Linked DNA regions of Homo sapiens: region 1 is linked to region 2. The links are contacts of gene promoters, found by promoter capture Hi-C in blood cells and fetal thymus (Javierre and others, 2016). All regions are on one chromosome and are shown on one strand. The core of a region is centred on a gene start or on the middle of the fragment in contact, and the rest is flanking DNA. Distances in the headings are between cores, read along the strand shown.

What was found. Contacts are between HindIII fragments. The CHiCAGO score rates a contact against its expected background, and 5 or more counts as called.
Region 1: a fragment that was not itself captured here is called in contact with the fragment with the promoter of UTY in region 2 in 1 of 17 cell types (fetal thymus); the score reaches 5.4 in fetal thymus.

What each region holds. Positions count from the first base shown.
Region 1 is chrY:15,419,377-15,425,858 of GRCh38, reverse strand. No RefSeq gene overlaps it. Among named protein-coding and RNA genes, the nearest start is that of NLGN4Y-AS1, 620 kb to the right of the region's middle. The HindIII fragment of the contact is 4,987 bases long and covers 441-5,427 here.
Region 2 is chrY:13,474,920-13,481,347 of GRCh38, reverse strand. UTY (ubiquitously transcribed tetratricopeptide repeat containing, Y-linked) reads left to right here and starts at 1,315. Exons shown (of 30, transcript NM_001258249.2): 1 at 1,315-1,834; 2 at 2,031-2,094. The coding sequence starts at 1,683. MIR12120 (microRNA 12120) reads right to left here and starts at 2,171; the gene lies at 2,082-2,171. The HindIII fragment of the contact is 7,265 bases long and covers 1-2,822 here.

The sequences.
Region 1 (6,482 bases), core at 1,685-4,184, 1.9 Mb before region 2:
AGCCCCCTTTCAGGGCAATTCTGTGAAATCCATCAGCAGTTTTTCACAGGGCCTGGCTTCTGTTTCCTGAACTCCTGGGGCCAAGTAGGTCCTTGTTTTGGATTATTTCAGGCACAGGATAGACGTTGTTTGCAGACAGCACGCATGATGGCAGAGAGCTGTGACACATAGAAATGTCAACCTATCAAAGTCTCTAGGATCATGCTTCTAATGTGTGTTCTTTGGTGGAACTATTTTACAAATCTGGGGCTATTGTCTCTGGGGCAGCTAGCCTCCCATCAGAGAACAGCCACCGTTCACTTTTAATATATTTCCCTGTTTCCTGACCAAACCAAAACTTTTCATCTAGAGTGTAGCTTGGGATCTCTGGGAGGGGAATCTCCAGGAGGAGAGGCATAGCTAAGTCTTTCTCTTTAGAACGTGGAGTTGTCATTGAAGCTTTCTTTGCCCTGTCTGCCTTTCTATTTTCTTTGGCCTTTAGTGTTCTTGCTTTTTGGTGCCCCTTTCAGTGCATCACTGCCACCTCTTTTGGGTCCCATACGGCATTTAAGAGCTGTAGAATTTCTTCCTTGTACTTTATTTCTTAGTTCCAGCTGTTAAAAATCTTTTATAACACTGGCTGATGCTTTTATCTCCATGTTGGAGCACCTCTGAGCTTTTTATATTGGTTGCCTTTTCTTTTACCATCATTTAGCCTTTGCAGAAGTACTTCTTGGCACTTTGTAGGTGTTGAAGCTGGACTGCATCATCTGGGTCCTAGTGGGGGTCCCCTTGTCCTCTTAAGAGACATGAGCATAACATTGGCATGGTCAGAACTGAGATGGCCTGACTTTTTGAAACTTTCACAACTTCCCGAGCTCTGATTTCTCCTTCTCAAGTGAGACTAGGAGCATGTATCTGTTTGAATTTAGCTCCTTAGGGGCAGTTAGCCTTGGTAAAGGGGGGTAGATTGGAATGTAGGGAGGAGGGGTCTCTGTTCCCTCCTATAGTTCTTGCAAAGCCGGTTTTCTCTTTCTTGAGACTTTTCTTTTGTCTCCGTAGCTTCCAGGGCAGCTGATTTTTACTTTCACTTTTGGCTCTGCGTGCTACAAGCCTCTGTGACTTTCCCTTTAACTCTGTAGTTGCCAGTGCAGCTGATTTCTCTCAACGTGAGCTGCGAGCATTCTACAATAAGCTGCTAGGCAATGCTGCATTCATTTAGCCATGAGTCTATATGAAGACTAGGTCTGAATGCCCTGGCTATCCTCCAACCCTAGTCACCACCTTAAAACACGACCAATTTCTCTGTAGTGCCTTCAGCCAGCCATCTGACATTGAAAGAAGGCTAGTCTAATTCACAGTATATCCTTAACTTTGGAACATCCAGTCTTATCCTATAATTATCTCTAAACGCTTTTTCAAAATTCTTTATCATGCACTCCAAAGGAGTTGGTTTTGACACTTGCTCTCCCATTTTCTCTCTTGCATCGCACTTTCACTGTCACTTTTACTCTCTGGTCCATCAGACCGGGTCCTATTATGGGAGTTTCAGATGCTGCTTAGCCAGGAACATGCATTCTCCTGTTAGAGCCTGCTGTGGCTGCAGATCTGGTCCTATCACCTGTATGCAATGTCCTAGGTCTGATTTTCCCACACTCACCTCAGAGCACACAGCCTGTGCTAAAGGACTTGTGCCTCCCCACATCATTGCCAATGTTGGCCTCTCCTGAGACCATCTCTTTAACATACTTTCACACACCTCCCCTGCCCCAGGACTCCTCACTGGGTGAAACAAGTCTCTTCTGTCCTGGTTGACTGCAGTTAGACTCCCACATTCACACAAATACACACACCACTCCTACCGCAGGACTCCTCATCAGACTAAATGAGCCTCTTTTGTGTCCTGGGCAGGTTCACATGCACCCACACACTCCCAGTTGGAGTAGCAAGCTACTCTTGCCACCCTGACAGCAAGCTCTGCCTTGCTGCACTTGCCACTCTATCGGCCCATTTTCTCCTTTTTTTCAGTTCCAATGAACCACTTTCATTTTGTTAGTGGGGACATGAGGTTCATCCAAGTTGGCAGGCCATTCCTGCTGTCCCCAGATGCTCTAGCTTTGATTAATTGTCAGTCCCCAACAGGTGATCAGGCTCCCCTTTGTCCCTATGGGATGGGCTTTGCTGCCTTGGGCTCTTACTCCTTACCATGGTTTATGAAGTGCTGGTATCATCCTGCAGCTCCATCCCTGGTTCCATTACACTAGTGGCCAGGGCACTGGGATCAGGGGAGAGCTGGTTTCCATCTGGGTGAAGCTCCCTCATGGCATGCCTTGGATGCTGGGTTTCCCCTGGCCCTGGGGCTCTAGTCCCACAGGCAAAGGAGACAGTAAATCTCCAATCCTGGATGAGCTCCCAGAAATGTGATGGTATTGGTAAGTAATCAGAGAGACCGATGGGGTTCAGGAGGAGGATATGTATTATTTAGTTGCACTGGCCCAGTCGGATTAACATCCAAAGGACTAAGCCCTGAACAAAGAGTTAAGTTACCTTTTAAGTATTTTGTGGGGCTGAGGGAGATCTGTACAGAGAGAAGCATATTACAGACGCAAGAAACAAATGCAGTTATTCAATTAATTGAGAGATGTATTACATGATTTCTTACTTTTCAACGAAAAACAAGTTTTGTGACTTGAGTTTATCTGTCTAGTGACCTTGCAGCTGCTCAGCTAGAGAAACAAGATATTCACCATGCTGGGAAAGTAGGAGTGATAAGGCTTACTAGCCACAGAAAAACAGGCAGTTAATTTTCAAAGGACTCTAGCTCTTTCTCTTTCTCAGGGGGGAATTGGGTTTTCTTACATATAACTGAGTTTTTGCTCACACATTCTTTAATTTCTGTTCCATTAGTACCTAGAAGTCAGTTTATTTTTTACTTTTATTATTATTTTTTGAGACAGAATCTCATTCTGTTGCACAGGCTAGAGTGCAATGGTGCAGTCTCAGCTCACTGCAACCTCTGCCTTCCAGGCTCAAGTGATTGTCCTGCCTCAGCTTCCCAAGTAGCTGGGACTACAGGTGTGCACCACCACACCTGGCTAATTTGTGTATTTTTAATAGAGATGGAGTTTTGCCATGTTGCCCAGGCTGGTCTCAAACTCCAGGGCTCAAGTGATCTACCTGCCTTGGCTTCCTAAAGTGCTGTGATTACAAGTGCAAGCCACTGTTCTTGACCCCTAGAAGCCAATTTAAACTTATTATTTCTAAGTCCCCTTCCTCAATGAGAATACATATGTACACAGAGTTGGATAGTTGGTCTAGGAAGGGTCTAGAAATGTAAATTTAACTGTATGCCTATCATGTTTTTGTTTTTTAAAAAAAAAAAACAAACAAACAAACAAAAAAAACACGTGGAGTTAGAAAGAAATTCACTGGGTAGCCTGGAAGAGAATATGCAACTCTGATACAGAGGGAGTAGCTCTGGATCCCTAGTTAGTCTTCAGTCAGCCTCCAAATCCTCCCCCAACCCTACATCAAAACCTGAATCCCCACCCCAATCCTGAGCGAAAGCCTGCCACTTCCAGCTTAATCTCTGTTGACTGTAAGGATGCAGAATTTGCAACTTTGAAGTCCTTTTATTCCACTCCCTTGTCCTTTTCTTGTCCCAGCTGGGTTACAAATGTCAAGGAGAAGTAGAGGGCCCAGTCCCACCTCCTGGGTTTGGAGTTATTTAGCCATGGGATGCACCATGATTTTCAAGTACAGTTGATTTTCCATAGAAGGAAGTAAAAAGAAAGTGCTTTGGAATACATTTTGAACTCCATTCACCATGCCGGTGATAAACATGGAAACTAACCATTTGTGTGGTGGTGCTCCGTGTCACATATTTTACACACAATCATCTTCCTTTCCCAGTCTTTTTTTTTTTTTTTTTTTTTCAGAGTTGGACGGCGCCTTGTATGCTGTGTACTGCCTGAGTATGACATGTCTGGTAATAAGAAGGGTTAAGAGGCTCCTTCCTTTGCCTTCACAGAAGTTCTGTGGCCCAGATGTGAGATCTTTAAAAGGTCAGTGTTTTTGAATAAGGAATAAAATTGTATTATAAGATAAAAGTTCATGGAATTATACAATAAAATACTAAATTAGTAAATGGCACTTCCTTAGGTCATGGTCACTGGTCACTGTTTTTGCATCCCATTCTTCTCGCCTTCAGGTAATATCCCCTCAGGTCTGAGAATGATCGCAACTCAGAGCCTGAGAAGAGCTGTGCATCACTCTCTTGGGGATGGCAGCAAAATGCTGAGCAATGTTGGGTCCTACAACGTGTCCTCCATGGATGCCAGGCTCTAGGCCTGTTCTGTTGACTGCTGGAGTCTCAACATTCAGAACACCAGCCCAACATGGCATGTGTATTGACAGAGAGACTTCGGGCAATTTTTATCTCCTTGAATGAATGTATACATGTTACGTGACAGAGCAGGGACTAGATGGAGCCAATATATTAGATCGCCTTCTTTCCACCCCTCATTTTCTACATACTGCAGCCAGGATGGGGATATAAAATGGAAAGGAAGAAGGCATATCATTTTGTATGTGCCCTGTGATCTTTAAATGTTATCAAATGTTGTTAATGAAATGCCATGATATAACTAACTATATGCTGGCACCACTTTCCTGTATACTTGCATTCTCTAATTATGTTCAAAGCAATGGTTGCCCAAAGGCTAAGGGTACGCTCTGACCTTTCTTCACCCATGAGGACTATGTTTTAACTTGTAATTTCACCTGCAGGGGCTCACAGTCCAGCGGCATTTAAGTGCAACTATACTTTACTCACAGTAACTAATAGAAAAGAGAGATTGTGGGGGTTTGGGCAGGGGATTTATAACCTCATATTTAAAAATATGAATTCCTGCTTATTTATGGGTTGAGCATTTTGGGCCCCCATTGTTTCACCAAATCTCAGGGTACCTGATTTTTATTCACAAAATCATGCATTAGTATCCACATTAGAATATAAACACAAGACCTAAGATAAATTTGTTTTGTAGTACTTTGATAGTTAGAACACATTTCCCCAGATAGAAATATTAAAACAAGAGGTTAGATACCCACTCCCATATTCACATAACCCTTACGCACCTGAGGAGCTCTCTCATTTCAGAATGTCCCTGACCATCTCTTATTTCTTATGGGAAAGTGTTTGGGTACCAGCTTGGAATCCCAGGAGTGTAATTCTCCGGGGCAGAGACTCTGCTGCTGGTGCCATTGAGTCCCTAGCCCTTTTTCATGCTCCACTTTCTGATGAGCTTACACACACAGGCATGGTGTACTGTGGCTGCTTAATATTGCTGTAGGACTTCCTGTGTCCTGAGTTCACCACTACACTTTAATTCTAAATATTTATAAGCTATTAAAGTTAGATTCAAAAACTTTTTTGTTCCCTAAGCTTTTTCTGTTTATTTCGCTGATAAATCTAGCAAATGTTGGCTGGGTGTGGTGGCTCATTCCTGTAATTGCAGCACTTTTGGAGGCTGAGGCAGATGGATCACCTGAGCCCAGGGGTTCAAGACAGCCTGGGCAACATGGTGAAATCCCATCTCAACTAAAAATACAAAAATTAGCTGCATCTGGTAGTACACATCTGTAATCCATGCTACTTGGGAGGCTGAGGCATGAGGATCACTTGAACCCAGGAGGCAGAGGTTGCAGTAACCCAAGATCATGCCACTGCACTCCAGCCTGGGTGACAGAGTGAGTCTGTCTGCAAAAACAAAAAATCTAGTAAACGTTAACAGTCACTGTTCATAAGTCATAACATTGTTTCAATCCCTTTACAAATTTATCATAAACTTCACCTTTATACTGTTTAATCACACTTATAAAACTAATATATTTTATGGCTTTGTTGAGTAGTTCAGTTGTCTGAATTAATGAATGAAACCCCTTTAAATAGTCATCATCTTAAGCACAATAAGTGAAGTTTATAAAAATGATGAACCAAAACTTCTTAATATTTCAACATCATGCTTATTGTCTTAAATTGTAAGTGTTAATAATTCAGGTATGTATTTAAATGATTATTTATAGAATTATTTTTCTCACAGGCTGAATTTAATTAAAGAGTACAAGTAATAAAATAATAAGTAACACAGAAAATGTATTCAGTGGTCTTGCCTTTCTTAAACATGTCTCTAAATGATTTGGTTGTTAGGAGACATTAAGGAAAACACTTCCCCTCCCAGGTACTTTACATTCCCATGCAGGTGATTGGATTTTTCATTTTTTTACATAAATCCAATAATCTTTGAACTTGACAAGAATCCTCCATTCTTACTAACTTCTTTCATTATACATCTCAGGTCAGGTACAGTCCCAGGTACAGCTGTTGAAAGAATATCTAATTGAATTCTGGATATCTTTCATGTAGTTTGTCCAACTGACTGACAGTGACAACTCATAAGGCCATATTACTGACATAGTTAGAACACTGAGCTAGCCTTAAT
Region 2 (6,428 bases), core at 66-2,565:
ATCTCGGCTCACCGCAACCTCCGCCTCTTGGGTTCAAGCGATTCGCCTGCCTCAGTCTTCAGAGTAGCTGAGATTACAGGCATGCGCCACCATGCTCTGTTAATTTTGTATTTTTAGTAGAGACGGGGTTTTTCCATGTTGGTGACGCTGGTCTGAAACTCCCAACGTTAGGTCATCTGCCCGCCTCGGCCTCCCAAAGTGCTGGGATTACTGGCGTAAACCACAGCGCCCGACCTGTCTCTTATCTATTTCTAACATGGAAGCCCCCGCTTCGAGCTGTCCCTCTTACCTGACCGAACCAATCATGTTTCCCTAAAACGTACAAAAGCAAGCTGTGCCCTGACCACCTTGGGCAAATGTATCATGGGTAAGTCTTGCAAAATAAACTTTTTAAATTGACTAAGACCTCTCTCAGATATTTGGGGTTCAGAAATAAATTCTTTTACCTATTATTTATAATTTTGGTTACAATTGAGAAAGTAAGAAAAAAGTGGTGTTTTTTTCTTTTCTAAGGGTTACTGCATCTTGAAAGTGTGATGAAGGTCTTAATTATTGTTCTTATAATTCCTGTCCACAGAAGCTCCTACTCTTACTGAGACCTCACGGAATTATCATTATCACAATAGAAATAAACATTTTGGGTTTGTGGAGTAACTTTTTTTTTTTTTTTTTTTTTTGCTCATCGTTTGTTGTTTAGATAATATCATGAACTGATAAATGCAGTTGCCACGTTGATTCCCTAGGGCCTGGCTTACCGACTGAGGTCATAAGATATTATGCCTTCTCTTTAGACTTGGTCAGTGGAGAGGAAATGGGCAAAGAACCAGCCTATGGAGGTGACAAGGCCTTAGGGCCAAAAGTCTTGAGGGTGAAGGTTTAGGGCCTGCGCAGCTTCCCTGCCATGCCCCGCAAGGTCTCGCATTCGCAAGGCTTGTGACAGTGGGAGCCTCATTACGGACTCTCCTAAAGTCCATGGTGTCCTCTTTTCGCATTTGCGCCCCGTGGGTGATGCCCGATGCCGCCCTTCCCATCGCTCTCTTCCCCTTCAAGCGTATCGCAACTGCAAAAACACCCAGCACAGACACTCCATTTTCTATCTTAATGCATTTAACTAGCACAACCTACAGGTTGTTCCATCCCAGAGACTACCCTTTTCTCCATAGACGTGACCATCAACCAACCAGCGGTCAGAATCAGTCAGCCTCTGTCATGTTCCTAGGTCCTTGGCGAACTGGCTGGGCGGGGTCCCAGCAGCCTAGGAGTACAGTGGAGCAATGCCTGACGTAAGTCAACAAAGATCACGTGAGACGAATCAGTCGCCTAGATTGGCTACAACTAAGTGGTTGGGAGCGGGGAGGTCGCGGCGGCTGCGTGGGGTTCGCCCGTGACACAATTACAACTTTGTGCTGGTGCTGGCAAAGTTTGTGATTTTAAGAAATTCTGCTGTGCTCTCCAGCACTGCGAGCTTCTGCCTTCCCTGTAGTTTCCCAGATGTGATCCAGGTAGCCGAGTTCCGCTGCCCGTGCTTCGGTAGCTTAAGTCTTTGCCTCAGCTTTTTTCCTTGCAGCCGCTGAGGAGGCGATAAAATTGGCGTCACAGTCTCAAGCAGCGATTGAAGGCGTCTTTTCAACTACTCGATTAAGGTTGGGTATCGTCGTGGGACTTGGAAATTTGTTGTTTCCATGAAATCCTGCGCAGTGTCGCTCACTACCGCCGCTGTTGCCTTCGGTGATGAGGCAAAGAAAATGGCGGAAGGAAAAGCGAGCCGCGAGAGTGAAGAGGAGTCTGTTAGCCTGACAGTCGAGGAAAGGGAGGCGCTTGGTGGCATGGACAGGTACGCACCTCCATCACCCGCCTGGTTGGCTGGCGATACTCTCCGGGAAGGCCTGGACGCAGCTTGCCCACGTTGATGACGGGGTCATCCTCAGCTTGGCACTCACCAATCTGTCGCTGTCGCTCTTGGACTCGGGAAGGAGCAAGTCACTGGCTTTCTCAGACCATTAACAAGCTCTGTGTCTCTCTCTCTACAGCCGTCTCTTCGGGTTCGTGAGGCTTCATGAAGATGGCGCCAGAACGAAGACCCTACTAGGCAAGGTAAAAGCAACCAGACGCAAAGTCTTTGGTCCGCACTTTGCTCTACCAAGGCCCCGCGTTCCTTACCGCCCAGCCAGTATTTATTTTGGCTCTGCTCCATGGCCAAGGGGTCGGAAAAGTGTTTCTTGCCTTTGCTGTCCCCGTACTCTGGAATACTTCGCCCCTTGCTCCAGACTCCCTTCTACTCTGAGGAAAAAAAAAATCGGACGCTTTGGGACCGGGCTAAACCGGGTCTACACCACATGCCTGTTACTTTAGGGCCTTTTGTTCCTGAATTTTAGCGTCACAAATAGTGAATGTGTACAGTTTTCAAAATTCATAACTTCCTGCTTCTTCCCCTCGCCTTTTGGTATTTGGCTCTTGGTGTCTAATTTTAAACATTTTTTTGCCTTTTTAAAAAAAATATCCCTGGTGTCCTAAGTGTAAGTAGCAAGTAAGTTACAGCGGTGAAGAGTTTGCAGTAGATATTTGACCTATAAACTGATGCGTGTATGTTTAGCCTGAAGTTTAGTGATTTGTTGACTTTTTTAGGATGCACAGTGCTGCAAATGTGATTTCATGAATGTGTGTGCTTTTTCCATTCAGGAACCTTGTTTCTTAGGTGTCATGCTCACAGTGGGAAGAATTTGTTGTTTGTGTGAAAAGTTGGCACTGTCGTTTAGTTAATGGCTGCTCCTATCAGCCAAGATGGCGGGTAAAAAGGGGGAGGAGCAATAAAGGGGGAAGCTTGGGAAGAGGGTGGAGGTATTAACCCGGAAACCTTAGCAAGGAATAGACCGTAAAGAGCGCTGACGTAGCTTCATGTTGCTTATTAAAAATTATTATTATTTAAAAGTAGAATTCTTGCGTTATCTCCAACATTGACAGCAGCATTTTTAAACCTATATGTGCTTATTAATTGCAGCATGTTTAGTTACTCCCACGTGAATTGTTGCGTAACTTGGCCCTGGAATATTCCTGTGTGTATCGTTTTTTACCCTCTCACCAAAATCTTGTTAAAGTATTTGTATGTTGTCAATTGGTCCCGTGAAATAAGAACGGTACAACAATCGCGCCATCTTTTAGATGCTGAAGCCAGTAGTTAAGAATTTCAGTTTATTATTGTATTTGACAAGGAAATACTAATTATTTTCTCAGGATGAACATTTTACTTACCAAGACGTTTTACTTTGTAGTTTAATTCAGTACAGACGCTGAGTTCTTTTACCTATAATCTCCTTTGTATGTTTGTTTTGGGGGCAAATACTGATCAGAAAACTAAAATGTAATATATATATGTATGTATAATGTGTATATATATAGTTAGTAAATCCACTTTATTTGACTGATAAATGAAACATGAGTTAAACTTTGATTATGCAAGTGAAAATAGCTTTATGAAAAACATGTTATAGTATCAATGATACGATTTAAGCAACAGTGACTCGATCTGCCTTAATGTTTAAAATAGTTATGATAATGAAATAAAAGTAATTTGATGTTTTCTGGGATAATGTGGGAAAATACTGGTTGAGAACTTTAAATCTTCATATGCTGGAGTTAGGATAAATTCTCAGTGGGTTGTGGTTAACATTTTAGTTTGGAATGAACTTTTCAGATAGACAATATGGGGTTTAAATTTTAAGGAATTTTTTTTTCACATATTGATCCTTTCCAATTTTGATTACAGTAACATTTTAAATATGAGAAAGTGGTTTCATTATGTTTGGGGAGAACTGTAGCTTCATAAAACACTGAGTAATGCCGTATATTAAACTGCAGTGACTTTTTTGAAATGAAAAAAATATTAACTCAATTTCACTTCATTTGGCTCAGGATTCTGAAGGCTGGGAAGTCCAGGATCAAGGGGCTGCGTTTCATGAGGGCTTTAGTGCTGCATCATTCTTTGGAGAAGGTGGAAGGGCAAGAAAGTATATCACAGTGCAAGAGATGGGGGATGCCTAACTCTCTGTAATGAACCTATCCTCACTATGACATTAACCCATCCATGAGAGCAGCCTGCTTATGATGTTGTCAAATCTTAAAGACATCATTTCACAACACTGTTGCATTGAGGATTATGTTTTCAATGCATGAACTTTGGGGGACATATTCAAACCATAGTACCTGTTCTCCAAGACAAATTATTCTACAGTATGTATAATAAAGTATTTTTTCCCTTTCTCACAGAGCTTTGCATATATCACTGTTTTTTAAAAAAGTTCTTAGAATGATCTATTTCACTGATATTTCAGTTTTTATTCGTATTTATGTTTTCTATGAAAGTTTTATTTATAGATTTTACTAATGTCAGTATTGTTTTACAAGCTTCTAAAGGTTTAAAATATTGTTATAAATATGCTTTTTTCCCTGTCAAGTTTTCTGGACATTGAGGATGCTCTATCCCAACGACTAGTTTCTCTGATTTTTTTTTTTTTTGACCTCATACGTGAACCCGCATATCAAACCATTAGGATGGTTGTAACAATAGATTTCCTTAAAATTCTGTAACTTATGTTTTATAAGATTTTTATTAATTTTTATAAGATTGTCATCTGAATTAGTGTAAATACTTTTCAGCAAAAACTTTTTGGTTGAAGCTTAATAACTTGCTCGTATTTAAATAATACGCAGTTCAATTAAGTGAAAAACAGATTTTAGCAATAGTAACTTTTATTTCATGTTGGAAAACGTTTTAGGTTGATTTTGTTTGTATTATGATAGAGTTTCACTCTGTCAAATAGAATATTACTATTACAGTATGCCTTCAATATAATGCTAGAGGCATTAACAGGAGAAACGCCTATTAAAATGCTTTGAGTGGTTTTTTATACTGTAATATTTGAAAGGTGATATTTAAGATCTTGCGTTATATGCGTTTTGTTTGCTAACCTGTAACCTGTAGAACTTCATTTCCAGTTGTAAAAATAGTGTTTTGAGTTAAAAAAGCAACTATAGAAATAATGTCATGTTTTGTTATTTAGAATTAGGTCTTTAATTTGGTGTATCAGGAACAGTTTGGATGTTGTCTTCCAAACAATTAGAGTTGTTATTGTTTACGTATTACTGGACAAAGTATTAAGTAGGCATTATGTAAGAATGCTAATAGAAAATTTGGGTACAACGTTGGACATACATATCTGAAGCAATTATAGAAAATATTTTGATATCTAGGCACAGTTCCAAACTATGTGATAATAAATGGGCACTTTTCTGGTATTGGTTTACTTTACTTTTTTTTCCCCCGAGATGGAGTTTCACTCTTGTTGCCCTGGCTGGAGTGGAATAGTGCGGTCTCACCTCACTGCAACCTCTGTGTTCTGGGTTCAAGTGATTCTCCTGCCTCAGCCTCCCAAGTAGCTGGGATTACAGGTATCCACCACCATGCTTGGCTAATTTTTTGTATTTGTAGTAGAGACAGGGTTTCATCATGTTGGCCAGGCTGGTCTGGAACTCCTGACCTCAGGTGATCTGCTCTCCTCAGCCTCCCAAAGTGCTGGGATTACAGGAGTGAGCCACTGCATCCAGCCTACTTTTATTACTAACTAGCTAGCTTTTAAAAGAGTCAAATTGAAATAACTAGGGAACATTTGATATTATTTAAATTGCCAAATAAGATTGTTTTGCCTGTTTTGTCTGTGACTCAGGTGGCAAAATTTATTTATAGGCATAATGCTGTAAGCCAAAATTAAATTTTAGTGCTTTCCAACCACAGTATTATACATCTGTTCTGACATAGATTGATTTTTAGTTTTGAAGGTTATTTTTGCACTGCAACTTACTGTGATGCTAACGAATGATCCCATTTTAATGAGCTGTCTAGAGAGCTAATTTGTATTTTAAAGAATATAAGATTGTTTCATTCAACAAATTAAGACCTAAACCTACATATTTTGTAAATTAGTCAATGGCTGTCATAAAATGACTGGCATATTTTATGAACTTGCTTTGAATCTTCACATGATTGGCTTATAAATTGCTGCTGCAACTCAGAGCAGAACAAACTTGAGAGTGCCATGAATGGAAAACTTTTATGAAGGTCGTATTGAAGTAAGACCTCTCTCAGTTTAGATTGAACAAATAGTCCTTTAAGTGGTAGGATGACTAACACCGGAACATGAGTGTAGAATAAATGTGTGAAGGGCTTTAAAAGTTCACAGTAAAGGTTAGCTTATGAAAATAAAAGTTTGCATTGCTGTTTCTTAATAGGACAGAGTTGTTACTTGGAGATTATTTGATTCATACCACAGCAGTGCATCTTGTAATTTTATTTAGAATTCAGATTTAAAATCAGACTTTAGCTTTAGCAGATGTTTAAAGTAATGTACTTTGCTATTCTTTTACTCGCTGATCTC